Regions from separate parts of the Homo sapiens genome. Here region 2 is linked to region 1. The links are contacts of gene promoters, found by promoter capture Hi-C in human tissues and cell types (Jung and others, 2019). All regions are on one chromosome and are shown on one strand. The core of a region is centred on a gene start or on the middle of the fragment in contact, and the rest is flanking DNA. Distances in the headings are between cores, read along the strand shown.

Region 1 (6,271 bases), core at 2,614-5,113:
ATTCATGTTCATCATAATGAAAACCAGTTAATGTACTGTAGTCAATGACGCCTTCAGGGGTTACAGACAGAGCAGAGGCTCTAGAGGTAGCTCTAGTCTACTATGTTTTGTTTGTTTTTTTAAACGAAGTTTCACTCTTGTTACCCAGGTTGGAGTGCAATGGCGCGATCTCAGCTCACTGCTACCTCCGCCTCCCAGGTTCAAGCAATTCTCCCGCCTCAGCCTCCTGAGTAGCTGGGATTACAGGCATGCACCACCACATCCAGATAAATTTGTATTTTTAGTAGAGACAGGGTTTTCTCCATGTTGGTCAGGCTGGTCTCGAACTCCTGACCTCAGGTGATCCACCCACCTCAGCCTCCCAAAGTGCTGGGATTACAGGCGTGAGCCACCGCGCCTGGCCTACTATTCTTTTTGAAATCTCAGGCCCATTTCCTAATTCTTTATTGTTTTTCTTGTAATCATTCTTATCATCCGTCATTGTGTCTAGCTTAAGCAGCAACTCCTCCCTCCCCAATTTAATATGCTATATATAATCACCAGCTTTCAAGTCACGGACTATCTATGTCTATTAGAGTGGTGCCCAAAGTAAGAGTTAATAGGCTTAGAATAAAGGCCTGAAATAGTTTTGTGTGTATCAAATATTATGTGCTTTAGCGATGGCATTTCTATCATCAGTTCTGGCCTCTGATGTTTTTTGCTCCTTCCTGGTTCTCCTCTGGGACCCAGCAGAGGAGGTTGCCAGGTAATGAACCTCTGATCCAGATAGCTGGTGCTGCACATGGCACTGCTGGAATAGTCTTTCTTGAAGACAGTGAAGGAGTGGATTATCTATGAAGGTAAGTACTGGCTTACAGGCCCATGAGAGCTCTTCCTCCATCACAACCCCTTTCCGGGGCATTTACCACACGCCACCTGTGTTTCAAAAGCAGGTGATCATGGAATCCCTCAGAGCAGAGGCCACATCCTACTTGTCTCCGTGTCCCTTGAAGCACACATTAGAGTGCCAGGCACACAGTAGGCACTCACTAAGTTATAATGCATAGAATGAAAAGATTTTCCTGGTTGCCCTTATTTTCTGTGTATACACAGCCTATCTTCAGAAGAATTAAGAGTCTATAAGCTTCTGAATATAGAATATTTTATATCAAACTGTTGGAAAATATTTCCAAAGGATTACAAGGAACAGCTTCCATTTTTTTAAAGCTTAAGTTTATTTCTGAACTGTGCTATCATAAAGCCATGGTGACTAAATTAGGGGGGCAAAGCCAAGTGACCACCGGAGAAAACATATCTTTGTGATACTGAGCTGGTTACCTTAGTGATTCCCGCTAGGTCTATTCCATTGTTTTCCCTAATGTCTAATGACCACATTCCCAGCCAGAAGTGCCTGTGGATGTGCGCACTGGTTGTTCTCCATCCCAACCCTCCCCTTGGCTCTCTGCCCTCAGTGTTCCAGTCCCTGACCTCCAGGCTCTGCCCTCTGGCTTCAAGTTGGGTTGGCCAATGAGAGGCGCTGCCAAAAGGTGCTTGGATGGGAGGAGAGAGAAGATGGTGTACTTCTCCTTCACTTTCTCCCTGCTTTAGGGCCTTCCATGACCAATGCTCTTGCTTAATGGCCCCTTCTCTAAGGCTCCAAATCTGCCTGGGATCCATTTTCCTATTTGCCCCTCTTGCCTTTTCAAGCACAGGGTGGTAAAGGCATATTGCAGTTGCTAATCTCTAGGTGCCTCAGCATTCCTTGTTGGTTCCCTTAACCCCGCCCACACCTCTCAAAGTGATCCCTTCATTCAGATCTTTTCATCTGAACCACCTGAGTTGCTTCTTTATCCTGCTGTTGCCCTGATTGGTACAGTCTGCAAAAAGCTTACCTAAGAGATATCTATGTTGTGCCAGGGTGCTCTCCAAGGCAAAGAGTTCAAAAGAAAACCAGAGGTTCTTTTCTCTCTAGTTTTCTGAACTCCTTAACCACTTTGGTGCTATTTAAATTAAGTAATACAAAATGATGGTAAACCCCAGTTTGCAGATGAGAAGCTTTTATTCATTCATTCATCAAATATTTATTGATTACTATGTGCCAGGCACTGTTCTGACCCTGGGAAAACAGTAAAGTACAAGAGAGACACATGCCCTGGCCACATGGTGCTTATAGTGTAAGGCCACTGTCTCTCAGAAGTCAGGGAGCTCATCAGAGGCAGGGCTAGAACCAGAAAACTGAGTTTCCTTAAGTCCTAACCTTCAGCAGATTCTCAAAGGAATCCATGACCCAAACATGATTAAGAACCACCAAATTAGGCCAAATTAACTCTCAAGCTTCTCCCTTGAACTGGGGAATGAATAATGACTACTCACTCCTAGAAGAAGCTTGATGCTCTTAACTTGAATTTGCAGGGGCATGTGGGCACACACCCACGGTGACACCACCACTCACCTTTCCTGCCCACCCTCCTGAATTCTCCACAAATCTGCCCCCACCTCCTTCTGTTTCTCACACTTTTATAATTAGCCTCACACCAGTCTCTGAGTCACTCCCTCATGGCCCACAAACGTTGGCTACACAACTTGCTGATGAGCTGTTTTTATCAATGGACAGCAGTTGGGAGCTGGATTCAGAGATGTGCCCTCTCTGAGAGCCTGGCATTTCTGGCCCTCCCTGTGTTTCCAGCAAAGGCAGCGATAGTGAAATTTCTGTCTCAGTTGAAGTATTTATGAGACTCATGTTGGAGGCATAACTAAAACTTTGCTGGGGAGAGTCAGGGGTCACTGAGGTGAATTGAGGGGGGCTGTGAGGGTCTGCCTGCCTCCTTCAAGCCCTCCGGAAACATTTGAGTTTCCTCAGAAAGGTTTAAATAGGCCATACTAGTAACCGAATACTTCCCCTGCTCTGGGTCAGACAAGACAAGGGCAACAGGCTGCTGACCTCAGAAAAGGTTGCAGGCTGGCAGACACAGCCCCTTCCCCAAATCTCCCAGCCTCATACCCGGCAGACACACTCAGCTCCAGACCTGGCTGTCACTGTGGAACCCCCTCCACTTCTCCCTGGAAAGCTCACTTCTCTCAGGACCTCCAGCTGCCTTGTCTGAGGCTGAAGGGAAGTCGCACCCAGGAAGACAGGTCTGGAGAAAGGGAAAACCTAGTCCTGAGGCTGCAACTGCCCCGCCGCTGTTCACCCCCCACCCCACCGGCCCCTGCCACCTGCATTTTCCCTTCGAGGGACTATTGTGGCCATGGATGCTATCTGGGTCTGGAAAGAGGTTTGTTTACTCCACAACAGCCCCTGTGAGGCAAGCCCCCTTCGAAGAGGTCAGAGATGTATTTATAGAAACATCTGAGACTCACTTCTCTATTACTTGCACACCTCTGTCTCTTTTAAGCTCTCCCAAATTCCTGACCAAGATGAAATCATGCAGCAAATGGGGAGAATAGGGGAGGCAGAAACCATTTTTCAAAGTGTCTCTGCTTTGAGCAGCCAGGTAGGAGCCGGTTGGAACAAGGACAGAAGGGGCTTCCGAGACAAGCTCGGGTGACAGGAAGCTGCTGGGGTGGCCGTCTTCCTTCCAACCTCCCTCCACCAACAGTTGAATGGCAAAAACATCAGGACACATTGCAAAACAATCTTCCTTCCTCCCCCTGTCCCCTGACAGATGGAAGAGAGGAAAGTTGTGGCCATCATTTACCTGCTGAGATTGGAAGAACGCTGTTGATGAAAGTCGGCTGAGACACGATAGAGAGGAAGAAAAGCTGAAGATAAATTCCCAAAGTCATTGGATTCAGGACAACCATGCTGGCCAGGGTCTGGCGAGGGTCAAGTTAGAAAGGAGGCTGCTGCGGAGCCTTGCTTATCTCTGCTTTTCTCTTCCTCACTGCTGTTTGCGTGCGCGTGTGTTTGTGTGTGTGTGTGTGCGTGTGTGTGTGTGTCTGTGTGTGTGTGTGTCTTTCCCTCTTTCTCTTTCCCTCTCCCTCCTCCTCACCCCCTCCCTCTCTCTCCCTCCCCCACCTCTCCTGTCTCCCATGCCTTTACCAAGAAAGAATGCCAACCATTTCCCATTAAACTGTCTCCATGCTACAGAGAGTTATATTTATCTCAAGCTCCATATCAAATGCCCACATTAAAATTAAGATGTCAAAATTTTCTTTTTTGGAGACTGAGGTAAGTGGCTAGTGAAGAGGTGATGAGAAGGCAGCCAAGTCTCAGATGTTCACTGGAGGCAGTCCTCAAGGGCAGAGAGATTCCTAATTGGTTATGTGCCACCATCTACCTCCTTGGAACTGGGCAGAAACAACTCTCCTGATTCAAACTGAATTTCATGGAGAAAAACCCCTCCACTGTCAGCCTGTGACATTTTTACCCATTGTGTAACAAATGTAAAGTTAACTTTTAATTTTTTTCTTTAATCATCCAATAAAAAGGAGGAAGGAAGTAGTTTATATTTCCAAACAGCTTTCTCTGTGAAAAAGTGTTTCTCTCTCCAAAAGCTGCAACCTTTTGATTCAATGCAAGGCAAAATAAATGAAAACAGTAAAAGTATAGAAAAGTGAATGATTTTTATCAAACTATATTCAGAAAAATAACATCACTAACTTAATCTTTGGCTAGACAAAATTATTCAAATAAAAATTATCACATTCTTAATACCTTTTATGAGTTTATAAAAGCCTGTTATAGAGATGATTAGATGACTAAAACAAAATAATAATTCACAGAGTTGTTCATTTTGCTTTAATTTACATATTACATGCCTCATAGGAGTTAACTCAGAAACAGTCTGCTAGTTACTGGATGCTGGGGTGGGCATCCTGCCCCTGTGCTCATTATGGGGAAGGTGGAGTTGGGTCAGGGCGTGGTATAAAGTGATATTTTACAGCTGTAGCACCACACTTGGGCTTGACTCTCAGCTCTGAGTGGCAGTGGACAAGCTCACCTCTCTAAGCCTCAGTTTTCTCATCCATACAATGGAGACAATGTTCCCTTTAAAGGTTTGTTGGAAAGTTAAGTGAGGTAATGGGGATGAATCCTACACGGATTAGAACTTGCACATAGGAACAGCACAAAGGAGACCCAAGGGAGCCATGGTAGCCTGGGTGCAAAGATGGCCTCCAAAAGTCCTCCCAACCCAGTGTGTGCATGACACTCTTCCCAGCAAAAAGCAGGGCTAGTTCCCCTCCCTTAAATCTGAGGTGGCTCTGTGACTTACTTTGACCAATAGAATGTGGCTAAAGGGACACTGTGCCATCTCCTGGCCTAGGCCTTAAAAGGCCTGGCAGCTCCTGCTTTTGCCTTTTCTTGAAAATCAGCTGCCACTTTAAAAAGTCTGGACTATTGAAGAGGCCACATGGAGGGGGAAGCAGCCAGCCTCCAGCTGTTCTGACTATCCCAGATGCAGCATCAACAGGCGAGTGAGGCCATTTTGGAACATCTAGCCCTGTCCTGGTCTCAGATGATGCCAGCCACAGGAGTGACCCCAAGTGAGACCCTCGAAAGAACTGCCCAGCCCAGATTACGAAGTCATGAGCAAATAAAACGGCTATTGTTTCAAACCAGTAAGTTTTAGGATGACTTGCTCATCAGCAATAGCTAACTGATACAGAGTTGATAAGGAAAGCTTTTGAAAGCATGAAAAATATACCTGAACTACATTCAAAATTTATAGGACAGATTAAAGAGAGGGTACCCCCATTTAGCTGCTCCCAAAATTTTTACAAGAAGGAGCTGTGATTGCTGGCCAAACTCAATCAGGACATTCTCAGGCTCACTCTTGTTAACTCCTGGAGCCCCAGCAGCCAGCTTCCAGTGGCTTGGAGAAGGTACAGTCTACCTGGGAGGAAGGTATCTTTTGAGTAACTTGGTGTCAGAATATGAATTTTTACTATCTAGCTCAGATTCCTCCTCTGCAAAGCCAGTATGACTTCTTCCTTCTCTCAGCACAAAGAATTCACCACTGACCATACCCTTGGAACAAATTCTGTCAATACGTCCTACCGGTGACACCTGCTGCTATTGTTTTTGAACACCACCTTGTGTTGCTATTTAGCTGGCATTAACATCCCTAAAGATAGGGGACTATCCCACAGCTCTATGTACTCTCAAGGCCCCCAGGACAGTCCTTGTCACCTAACAGATCCTCAACAATGTAAGTTACTTTGATCAAATCACACCACTGGGTAGGATGAAAAAAGAAGAACGTACAAAAGTAGCATAACTTTATGCTCCAGCTTTCTGCACAACTTGCATTTCCCCAGCACCCCTTGGAGCCTCTGCACATACAGCTGG
Region 2 (5,800 bases), core at 267-2,766, 43 kb after region 1:
TCATTCTCTGAAATACTTCATTAAAAAAATTTCAGCTGAACTCAAAGGCATACTTTTATCTTCAACACTTAAGCTGAGATGCCAGTACACTGAGTTTTTCCTATATTTATAATTGTCTATATAGCAATGTCCAGTAGAACTTTCTGTGATGATAGAAATGTTTTAAACCTGTGCCATCCAAGACAGTAGCCACTATCTACCTGTTGCTGTGAGCACTTGAAATGTGACTAAACTGAGGAACTAAATTTTTAATTTCATTTAATTTGAAGTAATTTAAATCTAATTTGCAACAGTTGCAGCATGCCTAGTGGCTACTATACTAGACAGCACAGGCTACATTATCAACTATTATGAATCCAGAAGAAAAACATGAAAAAAAAAGATTACTGCAAAACAACAAATAATAAGAAAACAACAAATAAAGTTAGTGAGGCATAAATAGACACACCCATACCCTGTTCCACCCCAAGGCTGGCTCACAAATTCATATCTGTCTCACATTCTACGGCCAGCTACAATACTGTCTTAATCTGGCTCTGCCATCAGATGATCAAGATTTAGCTAAGTGGTGAAAGGAAGGTAGACCTCTGGAACACAAATAATACGTAAACATCCACATTTCCAAATGGTGTAACAGGAATCAGTAGTCCTACTATTGCTCCCAGTCCAGGGAGCATTTTGCAATAAGCCTTTTCATTAACAAGGCTCAGACATCACACTCATTTATCTGAGTCTTCAGTGGCTCCCTGATTATTTACTGAAGCACCTAATCATGGATATTTGTGCAAAGAGGAACTAAGACAGGATTCCTTCTCTTTAGAAGGGCTGACAATCGAAACGGACAATACTCATACCATGTAGGCACATTACTGCCAATATAGAAGACTTTTTAAAAAGAGATTAAAACGGGAAAGAGAAAGTAAACAGACATTGGTCTTGGTTACTTACACTGCAGTAGCATCTTGAAATTTTAACATTTCTTTCCAAGTATCTGTATCAAAACCTTGGTAAATTCCATTGTTATTCACTACCAACAGTATGATTGGCAAGTTGTACCTAAAGTGAGAGTAAAATATGAAGGAAATCATTCTTCATTTTAAAGTAATTTCTTTTCTTTGGGTTGAAACTTTAACTTAAAAATGAATAGTTTCCTATAAGCTTTTTGTATTATTAGAGGAAGACTAAAAATCAAGCATTTATTATCCTAAGAAAGAATATCAAATAATTAACAGAAACATCATGGAAAGGCAGAAAGAATGCAAGATTAAGAGTTGTTAGTCCTGGCTGGGCATGATGGCTCATGCCTGTAATCCCAGCACTTTGGGAGGCTGAGGTGGGCGGATCACAAGGTCAGGAGTTCAAGACAAGCCTGGCCAATATGGTGAAACCCCGTCTCTACTAAAAATACAAAAATTAGCTGTGCATGGTGGCATGTGCCTGTAGTCCCAGCTACTCGGGAGGCTGAGGCAGAAGAATCGCTTGAACCCGGGAGGCGGAGGTTGCAGTGAGCAGAGATCACACCACTGCACTCCAGCCTGGGTAACAGAGCAAGACTCCATCTCAGAAAAAAAAAAAAAAAGTTGATAGTCCTTTAGCTATTAGCTATGAACCTCAGACAAATCACTGAGCTTTTCTGAATCTGGGTTTTCATAAGTCTAGATGGTATATGAAGAACACCTTCCCTATTTAATACTCTCTAAAGTACCACTTCTAGTTGGTTCCTAGGAACAGTGTTTGAAACGTACCTTTCTATTTACTGAGCTCCCCACAGACACCCAGCTCTTGCTAGATGCTGTGGAAGATACACAAGTAACTAGCACACACAATCTGCACTCAAACTACCACACACATAATCAGAAACACATTACATGGTGTAGTCAGTACAGAAAAGGAGTATTTAACAGTGTGCTAAACAGTATAGCAAAGACAAAAAAGAAAAGGTTGATTAAATGTTATTGACTGAAAAGAATGTAGGTTTTATTTTCTAACATAATTTCCAAGGGCAAGTGGTAAAAACAAAACTAAACTGCATACTGTTAAATAACAGGACTGTGGTAATTATTTGCTCTCCATGCTCAAAAGGAGTCATTATCCACTAAAAGGCTAACTTCCCCATAAGTCATCTTTTTTGTGTATATCACTTGGTTGTCAATAAAGACACTCTAACAGACACATACAGTCAGACCTCATTATCTGAGTTCTGCATCCGTGGATTTAACCAATTGCGGGTCAAAAATATTTGGGAAAAAAAATTGGATCTGTACTCAACATGCACAGACTTTGTTCTTGTCATTATTCCCTAAGCAATACAGCACAACAATTATTTATATAGCATTCATATTGTATTCAGTATTTTAAAGTAATCTAGACATCATTAAAAATATATGGGGGGTATGCATAGGTTATTTGCAAATACTGCACAATTTTATATCAGGGACTTACTTGAGCATCCTTGGATTTTGGTATTTGAGGAAGGTCCTGGAACCAATCCCCCACTGATATAGAGGGACAACTATACCTTCCCAAATCTTGAACGTTTTATCTACCAAAGCTTTGCCAACCCCAAAACATGATTCACAAAAGCCCTAATAAGAGCCCTGGCTAAGAATAGAATGGTTTTACTACAGTTTAAATATAGCTGGAAAAATAAAACCCCCATCCTTCTATAGTGAGGATCTACAATTCATGAGTTTCTCCATGAATTCTCATAACTACACACATGATCCAAATGACTCATGTTCACTGAGCATCACCTCAGAATTTAGCTGGGGCCAAGCATGGTGGCTCACACCTGTAATTCTAGCACTTAGAGAGGCCAAGGCGGGTGGATTGCTTGAGCTTAGAAATTTGAGACCAGTGTGGCCAATATGGCAAAGCCCTGTCTCTACAAAAAAATACAAAAAATTAGCTGGGCATGGTGGTGCATGCCTGTGATCCCAGCTACTCAGAAGGCTAAGGAGGCAGGATCCGTTGAACTTGGGTGGTTGACGCTGCGGTGAGCCGCAGTTGCGCCATTCCACTCCAGTCTGGGTGACAAAGCAAGACCCCATCTTGAAAAAAAAAAACTGCTTGGATTACCTCATTTGTTTTTCATAATCATCTTTCTAAGGTAGGAACTATTACTATTCCTACTTTTTTTTTTTCAAGGAATTTCTGCCTAAAGGATACTATTCCTGCTTTAGAAGAGAGGAGACTGAGGCTTGGTTAAGTGACTTTTTTTTTTTTTTTTTTTTTGCGATGGAGTCTTGCTCTGTCGCCCAGGCTAGAGTGCAGTGGTGCGATCTTGGCTCACTGCAAACTACACCTCCCAGGTTCAAGCGATTCTCCTGCCTTCAGCCTCCCAAATAGCTGGGACTATAGGCATGCACCACCACATCTGGCTATTTTTTGTATTTTTAGTAGAGATGGGGTTTTACCATGCTGGCCAGACTGGTCTCTAACTCCTGACCTCAGGTGATCTGCCCACCTCAGCCACCCAAAGTGTTGGGATTACGGGCATGAGCTACCACGCCCAGCCTTGGTTAAGTGACTTAAAGTCACATGGCTCTGACTTGATAGAACCAGTATTTAAATCCAGGCCATTTGTCCCACAAGCCATGCTGCCTTTTTTTTTTTTTTTTTTTTTTGAGATGGAGTCTCGCTCTGTCACCCAGGCTAGAGTGCAGTGGTGCGATTTCAGCTCACTGCAACCTCCACTTCCCAGTTCAAGCAACTCTTCTGCTTCAGCCTCCCGAGTAGCTGGGATTACAGGCATGCATCACTGCGTCTGGCTAATTTTTTTTTTTTTTTGTATATTTAGTAGAGATGGGATTTCACCATTTTGGCCAGGCTGGTCTTGAACTCCTGACCTAAAGTGATCTGCCTGCCTTGGCCTCCCAAAGGGCTGGGATTACAGGTGTGAGCCACCATGACTGGCAGAAGCCATGCTCTTCAACCACCACACTTGCTATTTCCCACAGGAAACAAGCTTCTTTCAGTCCCCAACATTTTTTTCTCAGTGACCTCAAAACCACTCCCCACAGTTTTACAGGTTTTTACCATACAGTGAGGAGGCCAGAAAGATACGGTTCTGGAAGAGAAAGACCGTGGGTTACTGCCACTAGCATCCTCAGGACAGAACACAGTGCTGTGCACAGGGCACCTGGTGAACGCTTCATAAGTATTTGTCAGGTGACTGGGTCTTGTGTGTCATTTTTCATATTCTAGAGAATCAAATGCTCTGATTCAGGATGATGTTTTACCTGCAGATGGTTTCTACCTCCATGCCAGAAAACCCAAATGCACTGTCTCCTTCCACACAGATGATCCATTGCCCAGGGCTTCTATCTTTAGCCACCACGGCAGCTGCAATAGCAAATCCCAAACCAACTCCCATTGTTCCGAAAGTACCAGCATCAAGCCTGTTGGAGAACAAAGTTAAAATGAAACCCTCTGGGGCATGTCATAGAGGATGGGATTGGCACAAACCTTCTAGTCATATTTACATGGTTGATGGAAAAATGAAGAACCATAAAAACATTCTCTTTCTTCAATATAAAATCTTTAGACTGCTAGGAACTAATTTGTCAAGGATAGAAAAAAGCCACCCATGTTTGCTTGGAAGACTATAAACATATTCCTAGAATACTAAGTAAACAATTATCATGATACCAAGAACACATCAAGCATAAAAACTCTACAAAACCTCACCTAAGGATACTTTTATGAAATATGTCCTTACATACTAAACATGTATTAATTCTCAAACGTCTTCTTAATCTGCACTATTACAGTTTCATATTAAACACATTATAATGAATTACGACTTCTTTCTTCTTTAGAAGTCTTACCTGTGACGAGGAAGGTAGTTCTGAAGCACAGTCCGTCCAATGTCCATAGTATTTGCTCCTTCACTTACCACGAAACAGTCTCTAGGTAGTTGTTCTTGAACATGGTAGAATACTGTGTAATAATTCATAGGCAGGGATTTTTTAGAAGCTAGTTCCTGAAAAGTAGATGGGAATATAATCAAATTAAATTGGGATACAATGAAAATAACCAATGTTAATAAGATGCTATCAAACTTATTTGGAAATACGCAACAACTACAAGCTACAAGGTTTCCAAATGGCTATAAAATGGCCACTCTGAGAAGTTGGCTGACCTGTGAACAGCCCTGGGGGACATGTGTACCACAGTCCCAGTTGGGAACACAATTAAATAAGCTCGGGAATATCCCGCCTCTTGGAGATCTGCAATGCACAGGAGTGTATTAAAGACATTGAGAAGTCCTACAGTAAAGACAGCTGAGAAGCACTGGGTTACATAAAACTAAACGTTCTTATTTGAGCACTCTTAGGAAAACGGTGCCTTAGAAAAAGTGAAATTTATTCCAGAATATTTTCATCTGAACTATGACCCTAAACTTAAAATGTCACAATTTTAGAATACAATCTGAAAATCTAGTTTTTCCCCCAACACACTTAAGAGTTAAAGGAGCTATCTTACCCCCACTATTCTAAAGAGTCCCTGAATGGAGAGAAAAACAGCAAGGTAAACGCCTTTGTCTAGCCACATGCCTTTCAGGGCTGAGAAAAAGCCATAGAGAGCTTTAGCAGCAACAGTCCCATCTGGCCCCAGGACTGCCTCTTCACCTATGCTACTTTGTTCTGCTGGAGATTATACACAAGGTAAAGAGGGACCCTCCTATACTCCTGCACTAAAGAAGAGAAGCAAGTCCCTTCTATCTTAAACCAACATCGTTCCTATGCGAAAGAAAAGATTAGTCATGATATGACTCAGGAAATAAAATTGAGACTGG

The links. The method cuts DNA at HindIII sites, captures the fragments that hold promoters and counts their contacts. A contact is called where the count stands out against the background at its distance.
Region 2: a fragment that was not itself captured here is called in contact with the fragment with the promoter of COLQ in region 1 in 1 of the 25 tissues and cell types used here (psoas muscle).

The regions. Positions count from the first base shown.
Region 1 is chr3:15,517,843-15,524,113 of GRCh38, forward strand. COLQ (collagen like tail subunit of asymmetric acetylcholinesterase) reads right to left here and starts at 3,864. Exons shown (of 17, transcript NM_005677.4): 1 at 3,678-3,864. The coding sequence starts at 3,783. The HindIII fragment of the contact is 5,771 bases long and covers 1,537-6,271 here.
Region 2 is chr3:15,563,603-15,569,402 of GRCh38, forward strand. HACL1 (2-hydroxyacyl-CoA lyase 1) reads right to left here. Exons shown (of 17, transcript NM_012260.4): 13 at 4,830-4,984; 14 at 4,242-4,400; 15 at 949-1,056. Among named protein-coding and RNA genes, the nearest start is that of HACL1, 35 kb to the right of the region's middle. The HindIII fragment of the contact is 3,486 bases long and covers 1-3,259 here.